Linked DNA regions of Homo sapiens: region 2 is linked to region 1. The links are contacts of gene promoters, found by promoter capture Hi-C in blood cells and fetal thymus (Javierre and others, 2016). All regions are on one chromosome and are shown on one strand. Each heading gives the region's core, a stretch centred on a gene start or on the middle of the fragment in contact. The rest is flanking DNA. Distances are from core to core; before and after follow the strand shown.

Evidence for each region. The method cuts DNA at HindIII sites, captures the fragments that hold promoters and counts their contacts. A CHiCAGO score of 5 or more calls a contact.
Region 2: a contact is called between a fragment that was not itself captured here and the fragment with the promoter of TMEM163 in region 1, in 4 of 17 cell types (megakaryocytes, M0 macrophages, M1 macrophages and 1 more). The highest score is 16.2, in megakaryocytes.

What each region holds. Positions count from the first base shown.
Region 1 is chr2:134,717,692-134,720,479 of GRCh38, forward strand. TMEM163 (transmembrane protein 163) reads right to left here and starts at 1,309. Exons shown (of 8, transcript NM_030923.5): 1 at 1,043-1,309. The coding sequence starts at 1,244. It overlaps LOC105373629 (a long non-coding RNA gene), which reads left to right and starts at 421. Exons shown (of 2, transcript XR_923354.4): 1 at 421-876. RefSeq lists a silencer at 1,393-1,632. The HindIII fragment of the contact is 5,110 bases long and covers 1-2,788 here.
Region 2 is chr2:134,456,688-134,459,543 of GRCh38, forward strand. It overlaps TMEM163 (transmembrane protein 163), which reads right to left. Exons shown (of 8, transcript NM_030923.5): 7 at 1,345-1,486; 8 at 1-89. The coding sequence ends at 29. Among named protein-coding and RNA genes, the nearest start is that of MGAT5, 200 kb to the left of the region's middle. The HindIII fragment of the contact is 4,333 bases long and covers 1-2,856 here.

The sequences.
Region 1 (2,788 bases), core at 59-2,558:
GGCCTGGCTGCAAGAATCCCTCTTTGGCCACTAAACGGTTTTAGCAGAACCACAGATTCGTTCTGAGGGGGACAATTTGGATTCGGATTCAGCAAGAAGTAGAAAAGGTGCAGACGCGGCCAAGAACAGGGCTCCCTCTGCAAAGAATCCAAGCCCAAAGGAAACGCGGAAGGGATGGAGAAGAGAGACGCGGGAACGAGCAGGGAGTCTCTCCCGTCCTACACTGGCGACTCAAGGGGGCATCGGCAGTCGGTGGGAGGCAGAGTGTGGTCTCCCAGCAGAGGCAAGTGTGCTGACCTCCAGGCCAGTGTCAGTGGAGGGGAGCTCTGAAGGGTCTGCAGACGCGCCCTCCGGAAACATCAGGTTTCAGTGGCATCCATCCAGATGAGGTTGGTGGCCCAAATCCAAATGTCCCATTCCTCTGCCCCATCATGAGACGACGGGGCAGGGACCCACTGTGACCCGCGTCCGCGATTAGAATCGGGGACTGCCCGAGACCAGAGGCCGCCCGAGTCCCGGCTCGCTCCCCTCCTTGCGCCCTTCGCCGGGGCGGGCAGCCGGGCGGCCGCCGAGGGACATCTCGCGGCTACACCCGCAGAGGGAAGTTCTCCCAGGCAGCCGGCGGAGCCGCAGGGGACTACGGAAAGGAGGATGCAACGAGCCTGGGTCCCTCCGAGCTGAGTAGGGCCCGGAGTGGCCCAGAAGCGCTCGACTCCGAACGCAAAAAATGCCTCCCGCAAACTTTTCCCGTGGGCGCCGGAGGGCCTGGAGCTGGCGGAGAGGAGGGCGCGAGTCCAGGCGGGGTCGGCCTGAAGGCAGCTGGGGTCTGGGCTTCGAGGGAAGGAACCGCAGCCGAGGCGGTGCCGGCCGCAGAAGGTGGGGCTGCCGCTCTCGGCTAGCGGCGTTCTCGCCGGGAAGTCGGGGCTCCGCGCCCCCGCGCGCTCCGAGCCCCGCGCCTCGCCCAGCGCGGCCCGCGAGTGGGGAGAGGCGGGCCCCGAGCAGCCACCCCGGTCGCCGGCCGGGTCGGGCAGCTCGCGCTCACCTCGGTCCTCCAGCCCGTCGCTGAACTGGCCGCTCTCGCTGATCCGCACCTGCCGCTCCTCCTCCAGCTGGGGCGGCTCGCGCACCGGGGAGCTCAGCGGGGCCGGGCCGGGGGCGGCAGCCGGTGGCGCGTGGCCCCGGGGCGGCGGCGGGACGGTGGGCCCCTGGGAGCTGCGGCGCTGGATGCCCGCGGCCGGCTCCATGGCGCGGGGCTGCGGATCCCGGCGGCGGCGACGACAAGCGCGGCGGGGACTCGAGTCAGAAGTGCGAGGCGCCGCGGCTCTGGCGGGGGCAGGAGCGGACGGACTGGCCGCGTGGACAGGGAGGGAGGGCGGGCGGGCGCCGCGGAGTGGAGGTGCACGGGCGGGGGCGGGGACGAGCGGAGAGCCGCTCGGCTCCGCGGCCGGTGGCGGAGGCTGGGGCCGCGTTGTTGCCGCCGCGCTCCGCCCCTGGGGGCAGGTGCGGGCGGCAGGGACCCGCCCCAAGGCCCGGGCGCGGGAGCCGGCGCACCGAGGCGGACGAGAGGGAGGAACCAGCGTGAGGACCCACAGGCGGCCCTGGCAGAGCTTGGCTAGGGCGTAGCGGGGACCCGCCCCACCTGCGCCGCGGGATGGTGCCCAGAGGGGACCCCTCCCACTGGATTCCTCTGGGGTCCGCGAAGCCCGCGGCCGCGCGTGGGTAGCAGACAGCGCCCCTAATTTGGCATCTTTCTCTTCTGGAGCTGCACAGGCTTCAGAGGCTGTACAGGGTCTTCGCCTGGGCCTCCATTCTCACTGCTCATCCAGGGAAAAAGGGTTCATCTGTCCCCAAGCCCGTCGCTCTCCGTCCTTCTCGGAGCTTTAACTCCCCTCCCAGTTTCTCCCTGGAGCACCCATTTAGCCAGGGATGGGGTATCTTTAGGACAGCGGGCGCTATAGAAGATGCTTGAACTCCGAGGCTTCCCCATTTCGACTCTTCCTGGGCCTTTGTCCCATACAGTTCGCTCCCCTGCTCATCTAAGTCTTGTGTGATCTTCAGAAATCCATGGAAGCCTCCCTTCTACGAGAAGTCTCCCCTACTCTGACCCCTGCAGCTCTTAATTCATTTTGTGCGGTGGGGCTGATCTCACCAGTGAGAGTCCACCGCAGGGCACACGCCAGCTCTCTTGATGCCCAGAGAGGAGCAAAAGAGGACCTGCTGTTTAATAAATTCAGCTTGGATTTGTTGAGGCTCAGAAAAGTATACCCCAACGTATGGCACTTTGGTATGCTAAGTTTGAACTAAAAAACTAAACAGGCCTCTGAAGCCGCCTTAGAAACAAAGTCTGTCTCCCCCCCGACTTTCTCCCCACTAAGCAGTTCACAGAAACCAGAATTCCTCTTCCCTACGGTGGTCATACAACCTAGAAATAGTACTCCAACCTCCCTGGTCCTCTGCCTTTCTGTGTAGGAGCTGGCCATGAAGAAATACTCAGACCTACCTTGTCTGATAGTAGATCCTGAGACCCTCATTCCAGAAGAGGTCCTGCTCTATACATGCTGCACAGAGAGGCCAAGAAGAATCTGAACAGGCCTCGCTGGGTTCAACCCTCAGTCTATTACCATTAGATCACACCCTTTGTCCAATCACATTTCTATAAGGCTGTCCATTCTTCACTGAATCTAAGCATAAAAACAGGCAGTTTTCCCTGAGTCTTTGCATCTTCATTTCTGAAGGCTCCTGTATCACATAAAACTTTGATTCAATAAATTTGTTACGCTTTTCTCTT
Region 2 (2,856 bases), core at 350-2,849, 260 kb before region 1:
GATGGTCTCATGCGGATGCTGGCCCCCTTCACTCAAACATCTCGTAGTGACGTGTCTGCCTCACCCTCGGCACCATGTCGATGAGGAGTCTGCAAAGACGAAGACAGACAAGGTCACCTCCATGGCATGGGGCTGAAGAGCTTGGGGAAGCGTATTTTCATTTTTTTTTTCCTGAGATAATTCACATACCATAAAATTCACCCTATGTGGCTCGGTGGTTTTTAGTATATTCATCCATTTGTGTTATCTCAGAAACCCCATGTCCACTGTACCATTCACTCCCCATCCTCCCCACGCCTGACGAGAAGTACCCTCCTTCTGGCCTCTATGGATTTGCCTATTGATATTTTATATAAACAAAATCACATAACGTGGCCTTTTGTGACTTCCTTCATAATATTTGAGGTCCATCTATGTTGGAGCGAGTATTAGCACTTCATTCCTTTTTGGGGGCTGAATAAGTGTCCACTGCACAGATCTACCACATTTATCCATTCATCTGTTAATGGACAATTGTGTTGCTTCTGCGTTTTGCCTATTGTGAATAACTCTGCTGTGAATTTCACAGACAACTTTCAGTGTGGAGGTTTGTTTCCATCCTCCCGCAGTGTATACCAAGGACTGGAAGTGCTGGGGCGAATGGTAACTCTGCGTCCATGGCAGCACCATCGTCCATTCCCACAGCCATGGATGAGGGTTCCACTTTCGCCACGTCCTCACTGACGCTGGCAGTTGTCCCTCTTTTTGATGATAGCCATCCTACCTTTCCTTGAGAATGGAAGCATTTTAACATTTAAAAGCAGAGCACCCTTTAGAAATGGTTCTCTGAAAGGCCAGCTCCAGCCTGGGTGCTGAAGTCCATGTCAGTGATGCCAGCACGGCCTTTCTGCACTGACTAGTCCCCTTTTGCAAGAAGTTCTCTAAGGCTAGGGATGCGGCCTCTGGCCAGCACACTGTTGCATCCCCCATTTGTGGCAGGAGGGGCTCCACTTGTGAGGAAACCACGCAAAGGTGCTTCCCTGGGGCATCATGAAGACTGTCAGAGAGGAAGGAGCATAGATGTCAGGACACGAAGGGTCCTAAAGGCATCAGATGGAAATCAAGGAGTGCCTTTGTGGCTTAAAGGCCTGATACCTCTTGTCCCTGCCTCACTTCTGTGCCAGCCCCAAGGATATCTGACCCCTGCTGGGTGCTTTTCCAGTCACCTGACACTGGTCAGGCTCAGGAGGGGCACAGGTACAAAATATGACCTTCAGAAGCCTGTCATTTCCTGACTGGGGAAGGCGGTGGAAAAGGGACACTCCTAGCTGCCAGGAAAGCAAACAGGAAAGCACAAGAACCTACTTGACCCCATAGGCAAATATGGTGAGGCCGATCAGAACGCCTATGCTGCCGTCCAGGTACCAGACCGCCGAGTCATGCTTGAACACTTCCGCGCTCAGAAGAATGGAGAAGCCCATCACGCCACCCACGAGGGAGTTAAACCCTGCAAAGGAAGTGGAGAGAGGCTAGATGGCAGTGCCAAGCAATCCAAGAAAATCACCCAAATGCCAGTCCTGCCTCCACGTAACTGGAGCATGTGCTGGGAGGAATGATGCCCAAAGCTCTCACGAGTGATAGCCACCACCTGGGCCCATCAAGTCTCTGCTCAAATGTCACCAGATACCTCCCAGAATAGAGCCGTCACCCCCACCATCATTCTGTACCTGCTTTATTTCTCTTCTGGGAACTGACGCCATATGTGGTTTATAGCTGGTCTCGCCCGTGCCCGCTAGAACGCAAACCTCCTAGAGGCAGGGGTGTGGTTTTCTGTTGAGTCCACAGTCCCCAGGACAGTTCCAGGCTCACAGTAGACATTCAAATACTTGGGGACTCATATCTGAGTGTCTGCTGGGCCAGATTCCGAGTTGGGTGTTCAGGACGTGTGGTTACCTATAACCTTTCTCAATCGTGTGACGTCACATTATCATCATCATCCCTGCTTTCCGATGAGAAAACTAAGAATGAGGTTAAATACATTGATGGAGGTTATCCAGATTGAGAAGGGCATTCTATCCCAACCTGCATCCTTTCCCTCCCGAGTCTCCTCTAAGTAACCTGAGGTTTTTTCCTTTCCCTCCAGAAGAGAAATGTAAAGTCTATTATGCTAAGTTTTTTGCAAAGTATTGGCTACATGGTTGGAGAAATGGCCATAAAAACAGAACTGGAGCTACTAGATAGTGACTGCCATCTCCTTTCACACAGCAGCCCACTGGGGCTCCCAGCTTACATGTGATACTTCTACTTTACCAGAGCTGTCAAAGGCCACATGGGAAGGGAAGGGAATGGCTTAAGGTAGCTTCTAGGGTCTCCCCGCGAAGGACACCAGCTCCTCCCCTGCCCCAACACACTGGTGGCCCCAAGAGAAGCTCCAGGTCCACGCTGCCCAAGGAGGCCCTGCTGGTAGGTTTGTGCAGGCCCGTAACCTCCCACGCCAGGCCTGGCTTCCCCTGGGGCAGAGGAAGATTGCCAGGCAGGGATGACCTGAGCAAATCTACTCAGGATCCAAGGCAGGGATGCAATGGCCGCTCACAGGAATGGAAGATGAACCGCGGACCTGCAAGGGCACCCCAGGGACTGGCCTGGACCCTACAACGCACTTGGTGGCACGCCCTTCTCTCCCCTGTGCTCAGGACACCGAGGTTTGGTCGAGGATACCTCATATTCCCCACACCACATCCACCACCCACCTGTAACTGTTCCTGTAACAGGAACAAGGGCTGGTTCTTGCGATGTTCCTCCCTCCCTCCTTCCCAGATTGGATTGGATTGCTCCTACTGGGATTAACCCACCTTCCCATCCCCAGTGAACTCTTCT